2 separate regions of the Homo sapiens genome follow, and region 1 is linked to region 2. The links are contacts of gene promoters, found by promoter capture Hi-C in human tissues and cell types (Jung and others, 2019). All regions are on one chromosome and are shown on one strand. The core of a region is centred on a gene start or on the middle of the fragment in contact, and the rest is flanking DNA. Distances in the headings are between cores, read along the strand shown. Region 1 overlaps ARSD (arylsulfatase D). Region 2 holds the start of ARSF (arylsulfatase F).

Region 1 (7,153 bases), core at 3,102-5,601, 130 kb before region 2:
TGAAGAGAACACAGAGCAGAGTCAGACCACGGGTTCCCAGGCAGCCTTTTGCACCTGGGAACACATCTCCCAGAATGCAAGGCTCCCCAGCAAATGGAGCAGAGATGAGCTGTCTCTCCAGTCGCTGTTCAGATTACAGGTTGCTGAGCAGGATACATGTGGTTATTTCAAGACACAGTGTCTCTAAGTGTTGGGGTCATTTGTTATGCAGCACTGCATAAGCAGAGTGCACACACACACACACACACACACCCCAACACACAGCACTGTCACCTTGGAGGTCAACACAAAGCCTTCAAATTCCAGCTGGACAGCCCACATTCCTAGGTTGGCTTTTCTTACTTTTTTTTTTTTATGAGGCAGAGTCTTGCTCTGTCACCCAGGCTGCAGTGCAGTGGCACAATCTCAGCTCATTGCAACCTCTGCCTCCTGGTCAAGTGATTCTCATGCCTCAGCCCCCTGAGTAGCTGGGACTACAGGCACAAGCCACCACACTCGGCCAATTTTTGTATTTTTTGTAGAGATGGGGTTTCACCACGTTGGCCAGGCTGGTCTCGAATTCCTGACCTAAGGGGATCCGCCCATCTAGCCTCCCAAAGTGCTAGGATTATCGGCATGAGCCATTGCATCCGACCTGTCCTTACTTTTTAATCATAACAGACCCCAAGACACATGGCCACATGGGTAAAGGAGATGGTGGCGCATGCCTGTAATCCCAGCTACTCGGGAGGCTGAGACAGGAGAATTGCTTGAACCCAGGAGGCGGAGGCTGCAGTGAGCCGAGATCATGCCATTGCACTCCAGCCTGGGCAAGAGTGTGAGACTCTGTCTCAAAAAAAAAAAAAAAAAAAAGCTTATTTATGTAACCAAATACCACCTGTTCCCCAAAATCCTATTGAAATAAAAAAAAAAAACTAAAAACAATTAAAAAAAATCAGGGAACAGGCAGCCTTATCTCCACGTACCTGTCCTGGGGCACCTCGCCACCCACCAGCTGGACCACAGTAGGGAACACGTCCATCAGGCTCGTGGGCTCTCCAATCACTCGGCCGGCCGGGAGCACCCCCGGCCAGTGGAAGATCCCGGGCACGCGGATCCCACCTTCCCATCCTCCCATGCCCTTCCCACCTGTAAGTAGAAGACATCGTTAGGATTTTGCCGGAAACTGCCCAGTCTGTACACACATCTGGATGTATTTGTGCATAGGTATGTGAATACGCACAGCCACCCGGATGCACACATGCACACTGGGGCAGCCTCAGCTTCCCAAAAACAGCCACAGCAATATTTCCAGAATCATGCTACTCCCTGGCCTCTTGAATATCGGTGGGTCGCTGTGGCTGATTCAACTGTTCTAGTCGATCTATGCTACCTTTATTTAGAATAAAATAATGTATTAAAATATTCATTAAATTTAATAATTTAAAAATGTTTGTTAACTATCAATAATTTTTAAAATATGTATTATTATGCATCAATATTAATTGATGCATTTAAAATATTAAAATAGTAATAAATTTATTAAATATTTAAAAATTAAGACTATAATAAAATAAATTTTAATTTTATCTGAATTATTTATTTATACCTCTCTGTATTCTACTAAAATGTAAACCCTTTAAAGGAAGGGGATGTGACTTTTTATCTGCCTGTCCTGCTCATCTAGGTAGAACTTGTACTACAGTAGGTGCTCAATGCATTCTTTTTGAAATGAGCAAACTCATTTTCAGTTCAACTTGTTCTGGGACCCTCAGTGGTGGCAGATATTTGGTCGAATGCATATGTGTCCCCGATGTCCACAACTCACCTTTGTAAATTCCGTTCCATCCCCCTAACTGGCTGTGTCCATCTCTTGCCTCTAAATGTCCTCCATGGTCAGAGGTGAAATACGTGAATGTTGAGTTCTTTAAACCATTGTCTTCGATGGCATTAAGAACCTTACCTTTACAGAAAATGGAAAGTTTCAGGACCAAGAAAACAAAGCAGCATCCACTAGTTCAATGCGCTTCTTCCTTTCTGCAGGAGACACCTCTTGCCAGGAAGTCATAAGAAGAGACCACACTTACTCGGAGGCCGTGGTTACAATGTGATCCCAAAGTGTAAGACATAGCTAATCACTGTGATACCACAGGACTGTTTACAATGCAAACCAACAATAAAATTCGAAGCCCCCCAACCGACTGATGGACTCTCCCTTCAGCCAAGGCCATTCCAAAGTTAACCTGAAAAACTAGGTCAGGCCGGGCCTGGCGGCTCACACCTGTAATCTCAGCACTTTGGGAGCCTGAGGTGGGTGGATCACCTGAGGCCAGGAGTTCAAGACCAGCCTGGCCATTATGGTGAAACCTCATCTCTACCAAAAACACAAAAATTAGGCAGGTGTGGGGGGTGCACGCCTGTAATCCCAGCTACTTGGGAGGCTGAGGCAGGAGAATCGCTTGAACCCAGGAGGCAGAGGTTGCAGTGAGGTGAGATTACACTACTGCACTCCAGCGAGGGTGACAGAGTGAGACTGTTTCAAAAAAAACCCAAAAGAGGGCCAGGTGTGGTGGCTCACGCCTGTAATCCCAGCACTTTCGGAGGCTGAGGCGGGTGGATTACGAGGTCAGGAGATTGAGACCATCCTGGCTAACACCGTGAAGCCCCGTCTCTACTAAAAACACAAAAAATTAGCCAGGCATGGTGGCGGGAGACTGTAGTCCCAGCTACTTGGGAGGCTGAGGCAGGAGAATGGTGTGAACCCAGGAGGCGGAGCTTGCAGTGAGCCGAGATCGCACCACTGCACTCCAGCCTGGGCGACAGGGTGAGACTCCATCTCAAAAAAAAAAAAAAAAGAAAAAAAAAACCAAAAGAAACAAAAAACAAAAACAAGGTCAGGCCATGTTGGAAAGTAGTGGGGGCGGGGGGAGTGGTGGACATGCGTCATGATACCCTCCTCCCTTTGGAATTCAGGCACAACTGACCAGCATTCACATTGAAACAGAGACCTATGACTGAGAGAAGGCCAGGCACAGTGGCTCATGCCTGTCATCCCAGCACTTTGGGAGGCCGAGGCAGGAAGATCCATTGAGCTCAGGAGTTCAAGACCAGCCTGGGCAACATGGTGAAACCCTGTCTCTACAAAAAATACAAAAATTAGCCAGGTATGGTGGCACATGCTTGTATGTAGTCCTAGCTACTCGGGAGGCCGAAGTGGGAGGATTGCCTGAGCCTGGGAGGTCAAGGCTGCAATGAGTCAAGATCACACCATGCACTCCAGCCTGGGCAACAGAGTGAGACCCTGTTTAAAAAAGAAAAAAAAGACTGATAGAACAGACTCTTTAAGTCTGATAAGAAACATTTACCATGTATTCTCTCTGAAGCCTGCTACCTGGAGGCTTCTTTGGCATTATGAAACCTTGGCCTCCACAACCCCTTATCATAACCCAGACATTCCCTTCTATTGATTCTCAGATAATAACTCAACCACCTGCCAATCAGAAAATCTGTGAATCCGCCTTTGACCTGGAAGCCCCCCTTTCAGTGGTCTTGCCTTTCTGCACTGAACCAAGGTACGTCTTACACGTGCTGATTGATGCCGTATGTCTCCCTAAATGTATAAAGCTGAGCTGCATGCCGACCACCTTGAGTACATGTTCTCAGGACCTCCTGAGGGCTGTGTCACAGGCCACTTGTCACTCATATTTGGCTCAGAATAAATCTCTCCAAATATTTTACGGAGTTTGACTCTTTCGGTCGACCCCAAGATACCACCAATACAAAACACAGAATGAACACACAACGCCAAGAGGTTGCCAGTGAGCACGCTTTTTTAAACATAGTGCCGTGTGTGTGTGTCACATAATAAAGACACTGGGGAGAGGGAAATGGTGAGACTCAGTGATGACAGAACCCTATGTAGGAGGAAGCAGGGCTGTAACTAGCATCTATGGGCATTGGCGTATTGGAGGCTGATGGCTCAGCAGCGCAGAGGACGCCCTGCAAACCAAGCAGTTGCTTTATCCCTGGAGGCCACTGGTCATTGAAAGCACTGAAAGTCAAAATGATATAAACCACAAGGTCATCTGTAGCTCTGAAAATGCAGACTTTGAAGCCTGCTGTAAACTGAAAAGTATCTGAGGCGGGTCTCAATCCATTTAGAAAGTTTATTTTGCCAAGGTTAAGAATGACACAGCCTCAGGAGGCCCTGATGACATGTGCCCACCGTGGCTGGGGCAAAGCTTGGTTTTGTATACTTTAGGGAGACATGAGACATCCATCGCTACATGTAAGATGTACATTGGTTGAGCTGGAAAGGTGGAACAACTGGAAGTGGGGAATTTAAACATATTCTCATTGGTAACTGATTGAAAGAGTTATCAATAGAAAGGAATGTCTGGGTTATGATAAGGAGTTGTGGAGACCAAGCTTTTATCATGCAGATGAAGCCTCTAGGTGGCAGGCTTCAGAGAAAATAGATTGTAAATGTTTCTTATCAGAGTTAAGGTCTGTGTGGATGTTCATGCTGCGGGGGGTAGAATGAGGCAAGCCCAACCCCCTCTTCCCGTTATGGCATGAACCAGTCTCTCAGGTTAAATTTTAGGGTGCCCTGGCAAAGGAGGGAATCCATTCAGATGGTTGTGGGGGGCCTTCGAATTTATTTTTGGTTTACACTGTGAACCAATCCCGCCCTATCACTATGCTTGTCTCGGGAGATATGTTCAGATTCTGCAAGGATTTTAATATCTACACTCTCTTAAGAATCTGCAGCCTCGTTGGTCCTCTCCAGGGTTTCTTCAAGGCCATAGAAGGAAGGTGACCTCTCTGCATTGTCCGAACTTTATTGCTTTAGTTTCTGTAACTTCTAATGAGGCTGTTAAGTCATTGGCTGTGTAGAAGGTTGACAATATAGTTTGGATGTGTGTCCCCGCCCAAATCTCATGTGGAATTGTCATCCTCAGAATCGGCGGTGGGGCCTGGGGGGAGGTGACTGAATGATGGGGACAGAGTTCTCATGAATGGTTGAGCACCATCCCCCGCTTGGTGCTGCGGAGGGAGTAGCTTCTCACGAGATCTGGTTGTTTAAAAGTGTGCGGCTCTTCCTCTCCTCTCTTGGTCCTTCTCCTGCCACAAGACGCCTGCTCCCCCTTCGCCTTCCACCATGAGCAAAAGCTCCCCGAGGTCTCCCCAGAAGCAGATGCTGCCATGCTTCCTGTGCAGCCTGCAGAACCGTGAGCCAATCCAACCTCTTTTCTTTATAAATTACCCAGTCTCAGGTATTTCTTTGCAAGAATGGACTAATACAGTTGATTTTGTGCAAAATTAGACTAAGTAATCAGAAATACTGAAGGACCAAATAAATGATATGAGAGAAGTTTTTCTCCCTATTCTTCGTCTTTTATTTCTTTTTTTTTTTGGAGACAGGGTCTTGCTATGTGGCCCAGGCTGGAGTTCAGTGGTGCAATAATTATAGCTCATTGCAGCCTCAGCCTCCTGGGCTCAAATGATCTTCCCACCTCAGCCTCTGGAGTAGCTGGGACCACAGGTGCACACCACCATGGCTAATTTTTTAAATTTTTTGTAGAGATGGGGGGGGGGGGCGTCTCACTATGTTGCCCAGGCTGGTCTTGAACTCCTGGTCTCAAGCCATCTCCCTGCCTTAGCCTCCCAAAATGCTGGGATTAAAGGCATGAGCCACCTTGCCCCACCTGAAAATGCAGACTTTTAAGACTGTGAACTCTATCACGATGCTTGTCTCAGGAGACACATTCAGATTCTGCAAGAATTTTAATGTCTATGCTCTTTTAAGAATCTGCAGCCTCACTGGTCCTCTCCAGGGTTTCTTGAAGGCCATAGAAGGAAGACAGCGTGTCTGCATTGTCCTGAACATTAACTTTATCGCTTCACTTTCGGTAACTTCTGATGATGACATGAAGTCACTGGCTGTGTAGAAGGTTGATTTTGTGCAGAATTAGACCAAGTAATTGGGAATACTGAAGAAGCAAATAAATGATATGGGAGTGTGTTCTGCCCCCATTCTTTGTACTATTATTATTATTAAAGAGACAGGGTCTCACTCTGTTGCCCAGCCTGGAGTACAGCAGTGCAATCTCAGTTCACTGCAGCCTTGACTTCCCAGGCTCAAGCGATCCTCCTGCCTCAGCCTCCCGAGTACCTGGGACTACAGGCGTGTACCATTATGCCTGGCTAAGCATTTATTTTTGTAGAGATGGGGTCTCACTATGTTGTGCAAGCTGGTTTTGAATTCCTGACCTCAAGTGATCTGTCCATCTGGGCCTCCCAAAGTGCTAAGAGTAACTCTTATTCTTTTTCTTTTTTTTTGAGACGGAGTCTTGATCTTTCACCCAGGCTGGAGCACAGTGGTGCGATCTCAACTCACTGCAACCTCTGCCTCCCGTGTTAAAGCGATTCTTGTACCTTAACCTCCCGAGTAGCTGGGACTACAGGTGTGCACCACCACACCGGGTTAGTTTTTGTATTTTTAGTAGAGACAGGGTTTCACCATGTTGCCCAGGCTGGTCTCAAACTCCTGACCTCAGGTGATCCGCCCGCCTTGGCCTCCCAAAGTGCTGGGATTACAGGCGTGAGCCACCGCCCTTATTCTTTATTGCAAGTTGGTTCATATTCAGATGGCCAGTCTGTTACGCCCTATGTTCAAACCTGAGGCCGAGGGTGGAGTGAGGCTCCATGGTACCTTGACTTACCTATGAGCCAGTCCATCTCCTCCACATTATCACCATATAAGCCATGCTGACTTTTCCCCAGGAATGCACTCGTGGTCACAAGGGGAATGTGCACATGCAGCAAAGAAAGGAAGAGGAGAAATGGCCCATGCTTGTGTCTGAAAGAAGAAAACTTCCTTGAGAATACACAGAATATACAGTACACCAAAGGGACCCCTGCACCCATACGTTCACTCCAGCACTATTCACAAGAGCCAAGGCAGGGGATCACCTTCTGAGTTCATCAGTGGGTGAACACAGAAAGAATAAATGGTGGGCCAGGCGTGGTGGCTCATGCTTGTAATCCCAACACTTTGGGAGGCTGAGGCGGGAGGATCACTTGAGGCCAGGAGTTCAAGGCCAGCCTGGGCAACACGGTGAAATGCCATCTCTACCAAAAATAGAAAAATTAGCTGGGCGTGGTGGCTTGA
Region 2 (6,880 bases), core at 1,955-4,454:
TGCCTGTAACCACAGCATTTTGGGAGGCTGAGGTGGGAGGATCGCTTGGGTCCAGGAGTTCAAGACCAGCCTGGACAACATAGTGCAATCTCATCTTTACTAAAAATTCGTTTAAAATTGCTGAGTGTTTACTAAAAATTTGTTTAAAATTGCTGAGTGGCACATGCCTGTAGTCCCAGCTACTCAGAAGGCTGAGGTGGGAGGATCACTTGAGCCCAGGACATTGAAGCTGCAGTGAGCTATGACTACACTACTGCACTCCAGCCTGGGTGACAGAGCAAGACCCTGTCTCAAAATACTACTACTACTACTACTAATAATAATAATAAAAAGAAGAGAGTACACAGGAAGCAGTGCTGAATAAATAAATGTATAAAACAAAGTCTGAATGTGTTAGTGCACAGTTGTGAAAATAATCTGGAATTAACATTTCACATGGGAGGTAATTGAAAGAGCAGAGAAGAAAGAGAGAATGAGCATATGTTCATGTTTTTGTTTCGTCTGGGAAGAAGACATAGGTAATGACTATCTTTATATTTGATAGAAAATATAAGCTTAAATACGTGTGCTGACAGGTGAAAGGTGGTTACCACCAGAAAACTAGAAAAGATGTGTACAAGTTTCAGAGCCTTAATGGGAAATGCGTGGATTGAAGAAAACCTGATTCATGCAATCAGAGGTGGGTGGGAAAGAATTACACCGAAGAAGCAGAAAATCTGATATGTGTAAAAAAGGGAAAATAATATAAAGTGAAACTGCAGGACTCAATCCAAATATAACCATGATCATAATAAACATGGATGGATTAAAATTCCTTTAAAAAAGATAGGCTTTCTGAATGGGAAAATAAACATAAAATCCGGACATACGGTAGTGTAGGAGGCAGCTTAATTAAAAACAAACAAAATGTTGAAAATAAATGGATGCATTTGATATGATTCTGTTCCACTATCCAATCTAAGTAATGGTCAATTATTTTATAGATTGTTCTTCAGTTTTTTTTTTTTTTTTTGAGACAGAGTCTTCCTTTATCCCTCAGGCCGGAGTGCAGTGGTGCGATCTTGGCTCACTGCAACCTCTGCCTCCCAGGTTCAAGCAATTCTCATGCCTCAGCCTCCACAATTGCTGGGAGTAGAGGCACCTGCCACCACGCCCGGCTAGTTTTTGTATTTTTAGTAGAGACGGGGTTTCACCTTGTTGGCCAGGCTGGTCTCGAACTCCTGATGTCAGGTGATCCGCCCGCCTCAGCCTCCCAAAGTGCTGGAATTACAGGCTTGAGCCACTGTGCCCAGCCTTCAGTTTGGTTTTGTCCAGTGTTTTCTCATGATTAGACTGAGGTTATGCATTTTTGGCAAAAAAATCATCAGAATTGATGTAAGTTTTCAGTGTGTCATGTTACGGAGTGCATGATGTCTGTATGTCCTGTCCTGGTGATGTTAAATTTCATCACCTGGATTAAGTGGTGTCTGTTGGAATTCTCCACTGTGAAATTATTATTTTTTCTGATCCAGGAAAGGTTAAGCAAGAGTCTGGCACCATTTTAAGTCTAATAAGAAACATTTACTACCTGATTTCTCTGAAGCCTGCTACCTGCGGGCTACATGTGCATAATAAAAACTTTGGTCTCCTCAACGCCTTATCCTCACCCAGACATTTCCTTTCTACTAATTACAGGTCTTTAATCAGAAAATCCTGGAATCCACCTACGACCTGGAAGTTCCTCACTTTGAATGGAATCCCACCTTTCTGGACTAAGCCAATGTACATCTCACATGTGTCGATTGATGTCTCCTGTCCCCGTAAATTGTATAAAGCCAAGCTGTCACCCAACCACCTTGGGCACTTGTTCTCAGGACCTCCTTGGGGCTGTGTCGTGAGCCATTGGTTAAATGAATAACTCTTTTCAAATATTTTACAGAGTTTGACTCTTTTCATGGACATTAATTGGTGCCCTACACGTGGGGCCTCAGAAAAGACTCAGAATCCTTGACGCAGTTGCCCGAACCCGGAGCTAAGTTACCCGCAGGGCCATTGGAAGCCCTCCCTGGCTTTAGGTTTCTCCTCCAGTGGAACCGGTGAGTCCTCTGCAGCTCTGGACCTTCCATTTGGTTGATGGTCCTTGGTTCATTCTGAGCTGTTTTTCTACCTCCTTTTTATTTTTCTCCTAGGAAGTTGTTGTATAGGATCCTACTTTAGGTTTGGTGGTGCATTCTAAATGGTCTTCTCCACTGCCCTTTTCCCCCCAAATTAATGTCGATTGGCCTGTGAGTACATTTGCGTGAGAGACTGAACTGCCACTTTTGTGGCATAATTTTGAATTGCCAAACGAGAGGCTGACCTCCTCAGCTTGGAAAAGAAAGGGAGTTTTGCTCCTCCTAGCCAAAAACCACCCCTGGGTGGTAGGGGTTGAGTGGGAGTCTCTGGGGGATTGACTCCTGCCATGATGTGCAGTGACCCTACAGGGAACCACACAACAAAATTAATTTTAAGAGGCTCATCCAGGAGACAGGTGTAAGAGCTGATCACTTGCTATGTTGAGCCCTGTCAGAGGTCTAGACCTCTGGAGAGAGAAACTCAGACACGTGAAAGGGTAGAAAGACTCAGTGGTGACACACAGTGTAGTCCCTCTCACAGCCAGCACACTTCAATCCACCCTACTAAAACCCAGGCCACAGTTTAGTTCCTCATTTTAAAATAAAAGTGGGAGACATAGCATGTAAGGATGAGGAAAGGCGGAGAGAGCGACCCCCATTTGGGCACCCCTTTTGGTTCTCTGGTTCCTCTACTTGCAAGTATTTGTGTAAGCGGGAAAAGCTTGAGGGCATGCCAGGTCAAACAAGAAGCTTCCTGTTACATATTATGTCTGTGCTTGTTCACACTTTAAACTGCTGCACACATTACACCAGAGAAAATTCCAGCCCAAAGGTCAACCTGCAACCAATCAGTTCCTAAGTCCTCTATTTTGCTATTTTCTTTTCTGCCTACTTTAAATCTTCTGTTTACTTTTTGTTCTTTTCTTTTCTTTTCTTTTTCTTTTTTTTTTTTTTTGAGACAGAGTCTTGCTCTGTCACCCAGGCTGGAGTGCAATGGCGCTATCTACTGCAGCCTCTGCCTTCCAGGTTCAAGCGATTCTCCTGCCTCAGCCTCCCCAGTAGCTGGGATTACAGACGTGCGCCACCACGTCTACGTAATTTTTGTATTTTTAGTGGAGACAGGCTCTCACCATGTTGACCAGGCTGGTCTCGAACTCCCGACCTCAAGTGATCCGCCGGCCTCGGCCTCCCAAAGTGCTGGGATTACAGGCGTGAACCACCACTCCTGGCCCTTCTGTTACTTTTCCACTGCTGTTGAGATAGAAGTCACTGTTGGGATCCAACCTTTTTGTTTGTATAAACTGGTGAGTTTGTGTTGATATCTCTTGCTAGAGTTCTGAAGTAAAAGCTATAGGATCTTTGTGTGAGTGTGCATGCGTATTTAGATGTGTTTATGTACATGCACATATGTGTGCACATATACATTTTTTACGTGCTTTAGCCCTGAAGTGTCAAATTGGCTTCAAGTCAAAGAGTACTCATAAATTAAATAATAAGCCAAAACGCTTTTCAAGTTCACGTGACTTACATAAATCTTTAATAAATAAGCTGGCTTTAAAATTATTGGTACGATAGTATTAGAAATATCTTAAAAATTGTCAGCATACATGTTTGTTTGCATTTACTGATCAAGCAGTTTCATATTTACCTCTGACAGATATTATAAGGTGTCAAAATTTGGCATAAGGCTTACAAAACTATAAACCCAGCAACCCAGCATGAAACACAATAATCTTTGTTTCTGTACTTTTTGAGAAATAAGACGTTTAATGTTATTAGTGTAGTAAAAAGAGCTAAATCCCAAGTTATCAGTAAAATATATATATATTTAAAATTTTTGCTTAGGCAAACACAGAAAATTCATAGACTATAAAAATGGTTAACAGGGAAATAACTTTAAATGATGACTATCAGAGTTTTCACAGATAATCTAGGTAAAAGATTTTATAAAATTAATTAGGTAAATGTAATGAAACAAATGCCTGTAAATAAATATAATTTAGAATCTAAAGTTAAATAATAGATATTCACTAAATGTCTGGGCCATTTTCAATTTAAATAAATTGTATTATAGAAAAACTTTTCTAAAAAATATGTTCTTATTCAAAGCTAAGTTATTTTCATCTAATTCCATGTTTATTTATTTATATTTTTTGAGATGGAGCCTCGCTCTGTCTCCCAGGCTGGAGTGCAATGGTGCAGTCTCAGCTCACTGCAACCTCTGCCTCCCAGGTTCAAGCGATTCTCCTGCCTCAGCCTCCCTTGTAGCTGGGATTACAGGTGCCCACCACCATGCCTGGCTAATTTTTGTAATTTTAGTAGAGATAGGGGTCTTGCCATGTTGGCCAGGCTGGTCTCGAACTCCTAACCTCAGGTGATCCACCCACCTAAGCCTCCCAAAGTGCTGGGATAACAGGTGCAAGCCACCGCACCCGGCCAGATTCTAGGTTTATTTAAGGGTTATTTATGAAATATGGTAAAAGGAACCAAGAAACAAGAGATGTAAAGAAAGTTAGGCTGCGTGCATTGGGTCACACCTGTAATCCCAGCACTTTGGGAGGCTGAGGCAGGCGGATCATGAGGTCAGGAGTTTGAGACCAGCCTGACCAACACAGTGAAACCCCACCTCTACTAAAAATATAAAAATTAGTCAGGCATGGTGGCATGTGCCTGTAATCCCAGCTACTCAGGAGGCTGAGGTAGGAGAATTGCTTGCACCCGGGAGGCAGAGGTTGCAGTGAGCCAAGATCGTGCCACTGCACTCCAGGCTGGGTGACAGAGCGAGACTACTCCATCTCAAAAAAAAAGAAGAAGAAAGTTACAAGGAGGTATTTTTGGTAAGAAATGTTAAAAGAAAAATAATTTTGTATGAGAAAGAATCTTGTTGTTTAAGAGAGATGTTTAGGACAGAACAGAAAATCCAAGCAGGTTGTATATGGTCTGTGCAAGTCATAATACAGTCTGTAAAAAAGGAATTCAAAAAAATTTTTATGTAATTAAGTTTGCTATAACTAAAAGGAAATTATAATCATTCTAGGTATTGGACTTCAATAATAAAAATACAGTAATGCAAAAGGAGATCATTGGTTAGAACAAGATTTTCTTAAAATACTGATGTACTCAGTGAAATTGCAAGAAGTTTTTTATTTTTGAATTCCATAATCTCTTCTTGAAATTCTTCAGATGGACATCCTAGGGGTTCCACTTCTGCTGCATCCTGCTTGCCTCAGAGCTTTCCCTCTTTTGAAAAGGCCTGGGATGGTAACTCTCTCCTTCAACTTTTGCTGGCTCCCGTAATTTTTTAAAAATTAATAGTCTAAAGGAAGAGAGAGAATTTTTGAAAACAGGCAAGTGAAAAATGTTATAGGATGTGCCTCTATCTGTGTGTCTGTCTATAAGTTTATTTATTGTCTGTTTGTTTGATTGATTTGTTTATTTTGGAGACAGGGTCTCACTCTGTCACCCAGGCTGGAGCGCAGTGGTGTGATCTTGGTTCACTGTTCCCTTGAGCACTGGGCTCAAGGGATCCTCCTGCCTCACCTCAGCCATCCATGTAGCTGGAACCACAGGTGCATACTATCTCGCCCAGCTAATTTTTTGTATTTTTTATGTAGAGATGGGGTTTTGCCATGTTGGCCAGGCTGGTCTCAGTCCTGAGCTCAAGCGATCCACCCGTCTTGGCCTCCTAAAGTGCTAGGATTACAGGCGTGTGGCACCATGCCTGGCCTTGTCTGTAAGTTTCTATCTGTCATGAGGAAGTAATATTTCAGTACCAAATTATATGAAAGAGCTCTAATCAAATGGCTTAAAGAAAAGTAAGTGCTTATCAGACAACCAAAAGCTAGCTCAGATGCTTTTAATTGACATTCCTTTAGTAATCTTTGGTAAGACTAATTTGGTAAATTTAATTTCAAAATCCTGTCCAGTGGTTTAAAATCTTAGAGTCACGTTAGATGGGACTGTTCCCCTGACCTTGACCCCCTTCGTGGGCAGGAACTGGAGTGGCTCATGTTACTCAGCCTGCAGTTTGTGGACAGCTATGTGTTAACAGCTCAGTGAAGGGTCAAGGTGACAGCCTTCTGCATCTGTCCTTTTGGACACCGACTTCTTGTTTGGTGTCCAAGAATCATCAGGTCACACAAACTGAAAGATGATGAATGTGGAGGACTTTATTGAGCAGTGGAAGTGGCTCTTGGTGGAAGAGGAGCTGGAAAGGGGATGGTGTGTGAAGAAGGTGATGTTTCTCTGAAGCCTAGCCTTCTCTGGCTGGGCTCCCCTCCAAAACCACACCGTCTGAAGTTAGTCATGTTTATCTGTAGTCTCCAATGCTCAGTTACTTCTCTGCTCGCCACTCAGTAGCTTGTATCCCTGCCGGTCAGCTGCTTGTGTTGCTTTTTTCTTTTTCTTTTTCGTTTTTCTTCCTGCCAGCTGGTCTGGTCCTTATGGGCACAGGATAGGGGGCAGGGCAGGCCAAAAAGGCAATCATCTGGGCAGAGAAACGAGGTCAGCTGCTTTCACTAGGGCCGAGCTTCCAGACTTGAGGTTGTAGTTTAGCCGGGAGCCCAGCCATCCTGTATCAATGTTAGATTAAATTAGGCAATCCTAGGTTTTGCACTGGAAATTAGGGTTACTGGGAGTTGGAATAGTAGGAGAGTAAGATGTATTTTTGGTGAGGTTTATAAAAACACAAAGATGTGGTTTTTGCCAAAGAAAATGTAATGTTTAGAGGCTATTTAAAGGTCACTTTAAAATAAATGGAAAATTATGTAGATAAAACTCATTGGAGA

The links. Contacts are between HindIII fragments. The study calls those that stand out against the background at their distance.
Region 1: a fragment that was not itself captured here is called in contact with the fragment with the promoter of ARSF in region 2 in 1 of the 25 tissues and cell types used here (pancreas).

Annotation. Positions count from the first base shown.
Region 1 is chrX:2,908,852-2,916,004 of GRCh38, forward strand. It overlaps ARSD (arylsulfatase D), which reads right to left. Exons shown (of 10, transcript NM_001669.4): 6 at 6,705-6,841; 7 at 1,808-1,942; 8 at 966-1,128. Among named protein-coding and RNA genes, the nearest start is that of ARSD-AS1, 7.5 kb to the left of the region's middle. The HindIII fragment of the contact is 3,631 bases long and covers 2,537-6,167 here.
Region 2 is chrX:3,038,267-3,045,146 of GRCh38, forward strand. ARSF (arylsulfatase F) reads left to right here and starts at 3,205. Exons shown (of 11, transcript NM_001201539.2): 1 at 3,205-3,397. The HindIII fragment of the contact is 6,572 bases long and covers 1,685-6,880 here.